Linked DNA regions of Homo sapiens: all the other regions are linked to region 1. The links are contacts of gene promoters, found by promoter capture Hi-C in human tissues and cell types (Jung and others, 2019). All regions are on one chromosome and are shown on one strand. The core of a region is centred on a gene start or on the middle of the fragment in contact, and the rest is flanking DNA. Distances in the headings are between cores, read along the strand shown. Region 1 holds the start of TFAP2C (transcription factor AP-2 gamma). Region 2 has its middle 150 kb from the start of BMP7-AS1. Region 3 has its middle 170 kb from the start of BMP7-AS1. Region 4 has its middle 280 kb from the start of BMP7-AS1.

Region 1 (2,878 bases), core at 205-2,704:
CAGGCGCGGATAGAGTGCGCGGCGCGGGAAATGCGCACCTCCCCCGCCCCCGGGACCCTCCCTTCCACGCCCTCGGGACAAAGACCTCCGAGCGGGCGGCGCTCGGAAAGCAGGGCCCGCCACCCTGCGCCGCCCTGGGAAGTGAAGAGGGAGCGCGCGCACAGGGCGGCCCTCCCTGCTGGCCGGGCCCAGCCGAGGGGAGTAATAAGTGGGGGCGCCCTGCACTGCCAAGGGCAGTGTTCTCGCACGTCGGGGCGCAGAGGGGGCATGAAGAACCCTGGAAATTGGGCAGCCTTGCCCGCGCACGTTCCCTCGCCCCTGGGCGGCCCGACTCAGTTTCTAAAGGATGCGTCCCCATCTGCCCAGGGGTCTCGGGGCGCCGGGAACCTGGAGGAACATGGCGCTGTCGCCTCCTGGCGGAAGCGCCCGGGCCTGCGGGCAGGGGCAGCCCTCCAGGGCCCGGAGGCGCAGTGAACTCCCGCGAGTCCGTAGCCCGAGCTCCGCGCTCCCGGCGCCCCTGAGCTCGCCTAGCGCTGCCTGCGTCTTCTTCCTCTTCCCGCTCGCCGCCTCCTTCTTCCCTCCCACTCTCCGAAACTCTAGCTCAACCTGTCCGACAGGCTGGAGCACTCGCGAGCTCTTACGGCCCCATCTGGCCTCGGGCACCCCCACCACCACTCCCCAGCCCCCACTTCTTTTGAAAGCCAAACTTCGGTTGTTTTCGTGCTTCCCCGAGGAGGTAGCGGGGCAGGTGACAAGCCGGCCTTGGAGGAGTGTCCGCCAAGGTGTCGCTAGCAGGTAGCCTCATCTGACCCCTTTGGACAGAGACTTCGTGCGTAAAAGCCACGTCTGAGGGTTGCAGACGGGGCACTTTTCCGAGAAAACGGGAAGCAGGGCTGTTTGCCGCTTAGGAAAGCGCCCGGTAAGCTGTGTGGGTGGGATTTGCCATTCTCTTTCCAGGCCTCGTTCCCGAGGGGAGGCTATTTAGGAAAAGGCCCTATACAGGAAAGGGGCCCCGCAGAAATGGACTAAGGGGTGTCCGGAGAAGTGGATCCCGTCCCACCGAGAGGCCAGGGCTCCTATGCCCTCGTCCCCGACCTCGGTCCAGTGGCCCCTGCCTCCCGGACTGTCCTCGGCGGGGCGGGGCTGCACCCCGGAGCCCCAGCTCACCTCGCAGTCCTCTTCGTACTTGACATTATCGGTTATTTTCCACAACATGGCGTCCGGCGTCCCCCAAAACAGTCGCCAGTTAAATCCAGGATCCCCCCAGCCCCCAAGCGGTAAATCCAAAATCGGGGTCACGGTGACCAGGCGTCTGCCGCCGCCCCCGCCGCGCGCGGGCCTTGCTGTCCGGGTCACTGGACACGCATCGGCGGCTCTGCGAGCGTAGATGCTGCCGCCGCGAGTGTCAAGACCGCTCCGCGGACGGGGAAAGCCGCGCCCGAACAGTGTGTCCTGGCGATAGCCGGGGGACCCGAGCGCCTTAATGAGAAGGAAATTATCATAACTCCTCCCCGGGGGCCGGCGCGGAGGCCCAGGCGCCGGGCGGGGCGGCCCCCAGCCAGTCCCAGCCTAGCTCCGCCCCGCACCCGGGCCTGGCGCAGCGCCGAGCCCCACGCTGTGAGGGACGAAGCGCGGAGTCAGTGGGCGGTGCCTCGTTGACAGCCGAAGACCTGCGAGGCCTGGGTCCCCCGACGCGCCTTCCTTCTGTCACCTCCACCGTAAACACACCTGAGATTGGCAGAGCTGGGGGAAGGGATCCAAATACTGAAACCCACCCCTCTTTCGCCTAAACGGCCTTCACTCGTTCCTCCAAAAGACGGATGTCACCTGGAGTTAAGAAACTGCGCATTTGGGGAGCGACTCAACAACCGGGGTCTCCTCATCTCCTAAAAACACATCCCATCCCACCTACACCCCACTGAGGCTTAAGGTCTGAGCTGGGATCATGCAGCTGGAGCCCCAGTGCGCCAGAGACGCCCAGTTCCCTCCGTGGGCACAGCGCGGTCCCGGCCCCCGGGCGGGAGGAGAGAGGAAGGGACTCCTGGGGAGTCTGCCCCAAGGGCCGCAGAGGCAGCAGACGGTCCTACCCGCCCAGGAGTTGCGGACAGCGGCGTCTCGCCGCTGTCGCCCGAAGTGGCATCTCCCGCGGCTGGCTGAGGCCAGGGGGAACCCGCGCGCACTGGACCAGCCCAGCGGCCCGGCCCTGCCCTGCCCTGCGGAACGCCGGCTCTGCAGCTGCCTCTGGCGGGCCGGTCACTCAGAAGCCTCTACTCGCCCTGGGAAAGAAGCGCCGGGCAGGAATAAAACCCGAGCGCCACGGGTAAGGTGAGGGTGAGGAGGTGCAGGAAGTTGGGAGAGAGCCTGCAGAGAGCTCTCGACTGGAGAGGTAGACACCCAGGTCCCACATGTTTAGACAGAAAACGAAACTTCCTTCCACACAAACGCTGCTTCCCTCTCCCCTTCGGTACTTGCCACCCAAACTTGAAAGCAAAGTGCAATACTAATTTTTAAAATTTAAACTAACGAAATTCTTTGGCCCAGTTATTATGCAGCAATTGACTTTCATTGTAAGGGGAACATCGCTAATTCTCGAGGGCGTATTTGTTGGGACGCCCCAACTGGCTCCCTGGGCTGGATTTAAACATTCTGTGGGGATTAGAGGACAAGACTATTTCTATTTGATACTGAATACGATTTTGCAATAATCAATGCCTATCAGTACGGTGTCCGCACCTGCAGTAGACATGACTCTCCCATCCACGGAATGGCGGCATCCACTGCCTCGCTGTTCCTTCTCGGGTTCGTTTGAACTTTAGCATTTATTTAGACCCAGGTGGGCCTAAAAGAAAATAATAATAATAGGCGTCCTCCAAGGGAA
Region 2 (2,878 bases), core at 256-2,755, 430 kb before region 1:
GCTGCCACCTGCCACACTTTACCCATTTTATAGCCTCCATGTGACACAGACAAGAGACAGGGAAATACTGGGTGGAAGAGGGCAGCTCCCTGGCAGAGGCCCCGCCCCAAAGCCTGGAAACCTGCAACCCTAAATGGGAACAGGCACTCCTGTTTTCATGCCCAAATGTTGCCTTTTGGCCTGCCATGGCCCCCTATCCTGTACCCATATAAACCCCAAACCCAGGTTCCACGAGCAGATGAGCAGAAGAATGGAGTGGTGGAGGAGGAGAGAAGAGAAGGAGCGTCTGAACGTCTGCTGGGGACAGTCAGAGAGATCGGCCCAGGGACAGCCAAACTCCAGGGAAAGATCATCTTCCCACGCCATTCCCTTTCCAGGTCCCCATCTGTCCTGCTGAGAGCCACCTCCAGCACCAAATAAAATCCCTGCATTCACCATCCTTCAAGTCCATGTGTGACCTGATTCTTCCTGAATGCTGGACAAGGACCTGTGTACCAAGACTGAGCTGGTTAACACTTAAGCCCTCCATGGATGGCAAGGCTAAAAGAGCACACTGTAACACACGCCTACTTGGGCTTCGGGAGTCACAGGATCCCACCTCCTGGATGCTGTTGTGGGGCTGGAGCCCAGGGGTGCTCACCCTATCTCCTGCACCTGCCTGTCTGCGTGCTCTCCCTCCTGTAAGGGGTTTGAGCACACACATGAGCCGTACCCTTGTTGCACATCCTGCAAGGGGGTTCAGGGAACTCTCCTGTTTCACATAGATATCCTTGTCAGATTCCCAATCTTTTCAATGATCTTATTTATAGGCTTTCCTATTGGTGAACATTTTCCCTGTGGCCCCTCCAGAAGCAAAGCTTTCTGAGGCAGGCACACTCTGGATCCTGCCCTCAGCGATACTGCACATGGTGTGTCCTCGGAAACCGGCACCGATAAGTGTCCAAGACATATTTATTGACTAACTGAAAGACACACGTTTACATAAATCCACCAGTGAAAATCAGGGTTGGGTACAGAATTTGCAGGGCCCAGTACAGAATGAAAAGGCGGAGTTCCTTGTCCAAAAATTATGAAGAATTTCAAGAGAGCATTAAACCCAGGGCAGGATGCTTCTAAGTGTGGGGCCCTGGACACATGCCCGTGAAGCCATCCCTGACTACGATATTACAACCACGGCCAAAGAATAATTTCTTAACTAAAAGTTCTTACTTCACTCAGTGCCCCCCAAACTCAAGTCCCAGCAGGGGTTCATTGGTAGGAATCCAGCTAAGAAAAATGTGGACAATGGAAGTAGTTTTTTTCTCAAGGCTAAACTGATGTCTCAGGGCTCAGTCTTAACTATTCTGCAACTGCTTTCCTTTTCTATTTTTGCTGGGAAAGTGTCTTCTCTTTTGAGAAGTGATGGTGATGCTGGATGTAATTACAGAGTACAAGGTTTGAGACTCTCACCCCCAGTGTTTTGGGTGCTTGCTTTGTATGTTGCCCTACTCTGTGGACTCCGGCATCTGAGAAGCGTCCTTTGAAGAGTTTAGTGGGATGGCTCCTATGTCCGTTCCCTTTCAGCAAAGAATCTGAGAGCATCATGGCCAGCAGAGGGGGCCGCAGGAATGCCGAATCCCCCTGGCAGGTCCCACATGTGGAGCTGCTCTCCCATCTCTCAGCTACCAGGGACGTACTTTATTAGGAGGAGAATCAGAATTCTATGAAACTCACCTGATGACCCTCCCTTTGGCATTTTGTATTTGCACGGTCTTCTTGGGCTAAAGCCTTTTTGGCTGAAATCCATGGTTCTGAGCCCTGGCTGCGTGTCAGCCTCACCTGGTGCGTTTTAAAAACATAATGTCCTGAGCTCGCCTCCCAGCATTTCTGATTCAGTTAGTCGGGGATGGGGCCTGGGCATCGGAGTTTGTAATGTCACTTCCCATCCCTGCTCTTTAATTCCAATTCTAATGAGTTGAGAACGCCAGCCAAACAGAATCTCTATCCGAAACTGGTGGTCTCATGGGAAAGGGAGTGAGTGCTTCTTTTTGGGGCCTGGGACAACTGTCTTCATTGCCTTCTTAGAGAAGGACAGTTTCAGCAAAGCACCAACAGGGCATGCCACAGGTTTGGGCAGGAAGCCTTGGGTGGTGCCCTGCCTCATGCTTGGTGGCACCTGAGCAGCTGTCCCTGACCTCTGCCTGGTCAGGAGCTTGTCCCGGTTTTCCTGTCTTGCCTGCGTCATGAGCAGGCCCACCCCTGGAAATGTGGCAGCTAGGTGTCTGGGCCCAGTGGGCTCTGGGTTGCAGCTGCTCCTTGCAGCCAGTGCATTGAGAGAACAGGCTGAGGTGCTGCCTTCTCCCTGAGCCGCCTCCTCCAAACCCTCGTGTAGCTCTGTCCCCAGCTGAAATATGATGACATTTACAGACTGCCTGTGAACGTGTTTCCTAATAGTAACCTTTTCAACAAAAAGAATAATTCAAAGTTTATGCAAAAGGCAATAGAAACCCCAAATGACTCAAAAGGTATTTTGGGAGTGGTTCCTCCCGCTGATCAAATGAGTAATCCTTCTAAGAGAGTACAAGCAATTTAATAAGAAAACTGTCTCCACGGTGAAGTTGCTTGAACCTGGGAGGTGGAGATTGCAGTGAGCTGACTTTGTGTCACTACACTTCAGCCTGAGCGACAGAGTGAGACTCTGTCTCAAATAATAATAATAATAATAATAATAATAATAATAATAACTCGTTCTCTGTCAGCAACCGCAGAGGCAAATCTCAAGACTTCACAGCCCTGCTCACCCGCACCCCACCCACTTCCCCATTGCCTCTGTCCTGAGATGGTTCCTTTCTAATATTCTGAAAAAGAGTTTGTGTCTCCCAGCATTACATTTATACAG
Region 3 (2,878 bases), core at 127-2,626, 420 kb before region 1:
TACAGCTGTAATCCCAGCATTTTGGGAGGTGGAGGTGGGCGGATCTCTTGAGTCAAGGAGTTGGAGACCAGCCTGGGCAACACAGCAAAACCCTGTCTCTAAAAAAAAAAAAAATACAAAAAAATACAAAAATTAGCCAGGTGTAGTGATGAGCACCTGTAGTCCCAGCTACTCAGGAGGCTGAGGTGGAAGAATCGTTTAAGCCCCGGGGGCAGAGGTTGCAGTGAGCCGAGATTGTGCCACTGTCCTCCAGCCTGGACTGACAGAATGAGGCCCTGTCTCAAAAAAAAAAAAAAAAAAAAGAAGAAGAAAAGAAAAAAAAGAAAGAAAGACAGAAAGAAAGAAAGAAAGAAAGAAAAGAAAAGAAAAGAGAAAAGACAAAGAATTGCAGGTTCTCAAACCAGCAACTCGTTTTAACAAGATTGTCCCTCATTCTCAAACTTTACCTTTGAATCATCCCCCATGGGTCTGGAGTGGGGCCCAAGAATCTGCATTTCTCTCCAGGTGATGCAATAGCGAAGTTTTGTTCGCAGGGTCTTACTGTTCCCTGGCAGAGGGGGACCTCCAACAGATCGAGATAGCTGAGAAGAAGGCTGGTAAGACACAAGAAGCAATTCTGGACCTGGGCTTCTTGAACTTGAACATGCACCCGAATCACCTGGAGGACTTGTTAAAACGCAGAGTGCAGAGGGATGGGGGGAAAGAATGTGCATTTCTTTTTTTTCTTTCTTTTTTTTAATTATTATTATACTTTAAGTTTTAGGGTACATGTGCACAATGTGCAGGTTAGTTACATATGTATACATGTGCCATGCTGGTGCGCTGCACCCACTAGCTCGTCATCTAGCATTAGGTATATCTCCCAATGCTATCCCTCCCCCCTCCCCCCACCCCACAACAGTCCCCAGAGTGTGATGTTCCCCTTCCTGTGTCCATGTGTTCTCATTGTTCAATTCCCACCTATGAGTGAGAATATGCGGTGTTTGGTTTTTTGTTCAAGAATATGCATTTCTAACAAGTTCCCCGATGCTGCTGATGCTGCAGGCCCGGGGACCCCACTTCAAGAACCACTGCTCTAGCCCTACAGGTGAGCTACCAGTGCATAACATGGTGCTCAGGGATTAGGGTGGTCAGAGACCCAAGTCTGCAGGGCTCCAGTTCCAGCCATCCCCTGCCTGGAGCCTCCTCTAGGGACCCTCGGAGGATGGCCCAAGCTGGGTGAGGTGAATGGCTGCCCCATACTCCCCACACAACCGGCACAAACTCTGCTCTGCCTGATGCTCCAGGTTCAACCAGGAGATCCTCCAGCATCTCAGCATCTTCGTCCACATCCCACAGCAAGCACACCTCTGCTCTCATGGACAAGGGCCCCTGGGGGCGCTGAGGGAGCTCGTGTCTCAGGTGCTGAAGGTGAATGATGTGCCACCCCAGGTGTAGCTGGAGGGAGGTGGAGGCAGGAGGCTGGGTGGAGGCTGCAGGTGGGCAGGGTCCAGATGGCCCAGAGCCCAGCTGGTGTTGATTTGCAGCTGATGTGTCCTTTTAGCATCATCCAAGCTGGCTTCAGAGTCACCGCACTCACAGTTCATGTCTGTTCTCCAAATTAGAGCATCACTGTTATTTCGAAGTACGTGGTATGGAAAAGTTCAGTTTGGAATTCTTGCATACAATCGTAAGAAATTACAATATTTTATGTTGTTAAAAGAATCTTTGGATTCTTTCAATATAATTTTCACCTGTTCTTTTATGTTCCTTTTTTGAATATTGTTTTAAAAATGATTTTAAAAAATATATTCCTTATTTATTCAAAATTTCTCATAAAGAGTGGCAATTAGTAATTTCCAGATATCCCTAACAAAATTCTTGCTGAGAAATTGTGTGCTATCATGTCAAGCATAAAATCTGGCATAAGCTAGGAACCTATATGGAAGCAAGTTCAAGTTCTTTTTTTAAGGTAAGAAGATTTTATTTGGAAGCTTTAAACAAAACTCAGTATTAAATATACCCCGTAATCCTTTGTATTTTGTCTTTATTATCATTACACAGTACTTTAAATGCCATGAAGCTTTTCACCAAGCCTCATAACGGACTCCCCAGAGCCTGGCTGCCTAAGCCCAGGACACTGTCTAGATGCTACCATTTTCTATACATGCGGTGTTGCCAAGAGGCAAGAGCTGCTCCAGAGAAGAGGGGCTAGACTCGGGTCCAGCACAGGGCTTGGCATGTAGAAAGTACTCAAAAGATGGAAACGTGGGTTTGAATGAATACATTCAGGCTTTCTTTTGGCATAGAAGAAAAATCAGTGCATCTTTGCTTGGTCTTTCACAGGGCCCCAAATATCCATATCCAGAAGGGCAGGGATTTTTGTCTGTTTTCCTCGCTGCTGTGGCACCAGTGCCTGTCCCAGCACAGTACCTGGCCCCTAGCCAGGGCTCGCTGAACGTCGCTGGAGGAAGAAACGAGGGATGACCTTTGAGACCAGAGTCAGAAACACGGTCTTTGGTCCCGCATGTCCGCCCCTCTCTGTGGACAGGGGAAGGCAGTGGGGAAGTTAAAGCAGCAGCACGCATCCCTAGAAGCAGAAAATAGGAATCAAAGGCTCAGACGCCCTGCTCAGAGTGCCGGTCCAGGGTGAGTGATCCTTGTGTGTTCAGCACGCATTTTGGTATGCTAAGTTGTGCCAGACCTCTTCTAGGCACACCTCCGGTGCACAGCAAACCAGACAAAGTCCCTGTCCCGTGGAGCTCACATTCTGGTGACAAAAATAGTAATGACTGCACGGTAGGCCTCTTACACGTACTTTATTTGCATTAATGTACTTAATCCTAGTACCAACCCTTGAAGGAAGGTCATAATATTATCCTAATTTATAAAGGAGAAA
Region 4 (2,878 bases), core at 230-2,729, 300 kb before region 1:
TTTTCTGCACCTGGCCTCAACCTCAGGCCCAAGAATCTTTTGTGCCAGGTCAGAATTGTTCCCAAAGCACAGACAACGACCTCAGAGGGTATAGGGTGCCATTTTTTAGGCCCACATGAGCGTCTGCAAAACCTGTGAAAACTCGCATGATCCTGAAAGCAAAGGCCTCCATAAATCCTGCACACCGGGTACCCCTCTTGCCTCCCCCAGTCCCAGTGCTGTTGGAGGTCTGAGGAGTTGAGAGGAGGCCAGCATGGCCAAAGTGACAGTTCCCTTGGTGGGTGGTGGGGACATCACATGGGGTCTCCTAGGGAATGTAAAAGGCCTGGCTTTTATTCCAAGTGTGGTATGGAGCCATTTGAGATCTTTGAACAGGGGAATGACGAGATCTCATTTCCATTTTAAAGGGCTGATTGCAGTTTAAATTTTAAAAGGATAGTCAGCAGAAAAAAAAAAAAAAAAGAATACTCTGAGAGTGAAGTCATTGGCCCAAGGACAGGAAGCTACCAAAATTCTGTTGTCTCTCCCTCACTCCCAGTGTCCTTAACCGTGAGGCAGCACTGTCTCTCCACAGGACACCCACGGTTTCTCGAGGGCTCTTCGTCCATCCCTGAGCTTCAGGCTTTACTTGTGTTATCTCGGAGAGTACAAGTTCTGGAGACACGTACAGTTATTTGTGTTTTACAGATGAGGAAACCCAGGGTGTAGGAGTTTAAGCAGCTTTCTCAGGGCCACACCACCAGGAAGTGGCCAGAGGCCATTCCTTGAATCTCCATGTCCAGCCCTTTCCGCCACGATCCTCGGTTCAAGTGTCAGAGGCGTTTGAACCAGAGCAACTCCATCCTGAATAGGGACTGGGTAAAATAAGCCTGAAACCTGCTGGGCTGCATTTCCCATTGGTTGGGCATTCTAATCACAGGATGAAATAGGAGGTCAGCACAAGATCCAGGTCATAAAGACCTGCCCAATAAAACAGGTTGTAGTAAAGAAGCCAGCCATAACCCACCAAAACCAAGATGGCAACAGGAGTGACCTCTTGGTGTCCTCGCTGCTCATAACCTGCTAATTATAATGCATTAGCATGCTAGAAGACACTCCCACCAGCACCATGTCAGTTTACAGATGTCATGGCAACGTCTGGAAGCTACCCTATACGGTCTAAAAAGGGGAGGAGCCCGCAGCTCCGAAACTGCCCATGCCTTTCCTGGGAAAACTCATGAATAATCCACCCCTTGTTTAACATATAATTTAAAAAAAACATAAAAATGGGCAACCAGCAGCCCTCAGGGCTGCTCTGCCTATGGAGTAGCCGCTCTTTGATTCCTTTATTTTCTTAATAAACTTGCTTTCATGTTACTCTAAGGATTTACCTCAAATTCTTTCTTGTGTGAGATCCAAGAACCCTTTCTTGGGGTCTGGATCGGGACCCCTTTCCGGTAACACAAGTGTCCACCTCTCTACTTCCACAGTGCAGATTCACGGGGTCCACCATTGCAATTCCACATGTGCCCATTGTTGCTAATACAAACGTATGCTGTTGGGTATAAAGTATAACTCACTGATAATATTATTTATCCTTTTGACTATCATACGTGCCCCCTATTTAATCTCTCTGTTTATGGAGTGGAGTGGCACTTAATTTTCCTGTGATCCAGATGCACAGATGATGGAATTATAAGGAGCCAGCATTTGGATTCCTACCTCTAAAAGGGTTGCCAAATTAAACACAGGAGACCCCGTTAAATGTTCATTTTAGATAAACAATGAATACTCTTTTTTTTAGTATAAGTATGTCCCAAATATTGCGTGAGAAAGACTTATCCTTAAAAAAATTATCGTTTATCTAAAATTAACATTTAATTGAGTGTCCCGTAGTTTGATTTGCTAAATGTGATGGGCTTAACTCTGGCAACATGGGAACATCTCCATATTTTACTCTTCTCCCCAGAAAGAAATTATAAAAAATAATTAGTGATAACTTTTTCCCTTTAGACACTAAAGTGGCATTTAACTTGTTTTCTTGAGGGTAGATGAGAACCCCTTTGCTCGCTTCACCCTCCTCCCCCTTTGTCCCTTCATCCTTCAACCTGAGAAATTAAAGCTTCGGTGAGTGCGGTGAGAATCCGAGTATAAATGCCTTTCTGAATAGTCGGCAATCGAAACAAATAAATCCGCTCCCCATTACCCCGTGTAGTTGGTTTTTCTTTCTGTTTACTGTATTTTCTACTTAAATGAAGGCCATAATGATACACTCGCTATTCTTGTCATTTTTGCTCTGTTTGATGCTTAATGACGTGCTCCTTATACATGGCATTAAAAAACATTCCTTGTCTGTCATGGACGCCTGGAGGCATGAGCAACCTTGCTCAGCACTCAAAAGTAATTAAAGACAATCAACCAAAAATGCAAGGGGTTTGTGGGACCCCAGATTCCAAACTCCACCTACGTACAGCGGGAGCCAAGCGTCCTGCAAGGAGGAGCTATTTACATTTAACTCTCTGATGCATCGCAGCTTCATTTTGCTCAGACTCACCACAGCTTGCTGAAGGCACAAACACCTGAGAACTTCATCTAAGAGCTAATGGACAGTTTCCTTTCAAGAGTTAGGGGGAAAAAAAGACCTCCCAGCCTTGAACACCAGAACACTTTTGTCCCCCTTTGGCTGTTTGCAGGTCATTTATTTCCAGTTTCTTAAAAATATTTATAGGCAACAAGGAAGAGGAGATGAAAATTGTAAGGTAAAAATTTTCTTAAACCAATGCAAATGTTATTTTTCTGAAACAACAGTCAATGAAGTTAGATTAAAATCTTGTTGTAGCAGAAATACATTTTCATGTCACTAAAGTCTTTACAAATGTTCAAATGCAGAATAATGTTC

Evidence for each region. The method cuts DNA at HindIII sites, captures the fragments that hold promoters and counts their contacts. A contact is called where the count stands out against the background at its distance.
Region 2: a fragment that was not itself captured here is called in contact with the fragment with the promoter of TFAP2C in region 1 in 2 of the 25 tissues and cell types used here (mesenchymal stem cells and thymus).
Region 3: a fragment that was not itself captured here is called in contact with the fragment with the promoter of TFAP2C in region 1 in 1 of the 25 tissues and cell types used here (mesendoderm cells).
Region 4: a contact is called between a fragment that was not itself captured here and the fragment with the promoter of TFAP2C in region 1, in 3 of the 25 tissues and cell types used here (H1 embryonic stem cells, mesendoderm cells and neural progenitor cells).

The regions. Positions count from the first base shown.
Region 1 is chr20:56,627,882-56,630,759 of GRCh38, reverse strand. It overlaps TFAP2C (transcription factor AP-2 gamma), which reads right to left and starts at 1,454. Exons shown (of 7, transcript NM_003222.4): 1 at 1,168-1,454. The coding sequence starts at 1,215. RefSeq lists silencers at 1,133-1,427, 1,484-1,543. The HindIII fragment of the contact is 13,903 bases long and covers 1-2,878 here.
Region 2 is chr20:57,060,207-57,063,084 of GRCh38, reverse strand. No RefSeq gene overlaps it. Among named protein-coding and RNA genes, the nearest start is that of BMP7-AS1, 150 kb to the left of the region's middle. The HindIII fragment of the contact is 4,827 bases long and covers 1-2,878 here.
Region 3 is chr20:57,043,646-57,046,523 of GRCh38, reverse strand. No RefSeq gene overlaps it. Among named protein-coding and RNA genes, the nearest start is that of BMP7-AS1, 170 kb to the left of the region's middle. RefSeq lists an enhancer at 1,304-1,805. The HindIII fragment of the contact is 6,368 bases long and covers 1-2,878 here.
Region 4 is chr20:56,929,343-56,932,220 of GRCh38, reverse strand. No RefSeq gene overlaps it. Among named protein-coding and RNA genes, the nearest start is that of BMP7-AS1, 280 kb to the left of the region's middle. The HindIII fragment of the contact is 8,822 bases long and covers 1-2,878 here.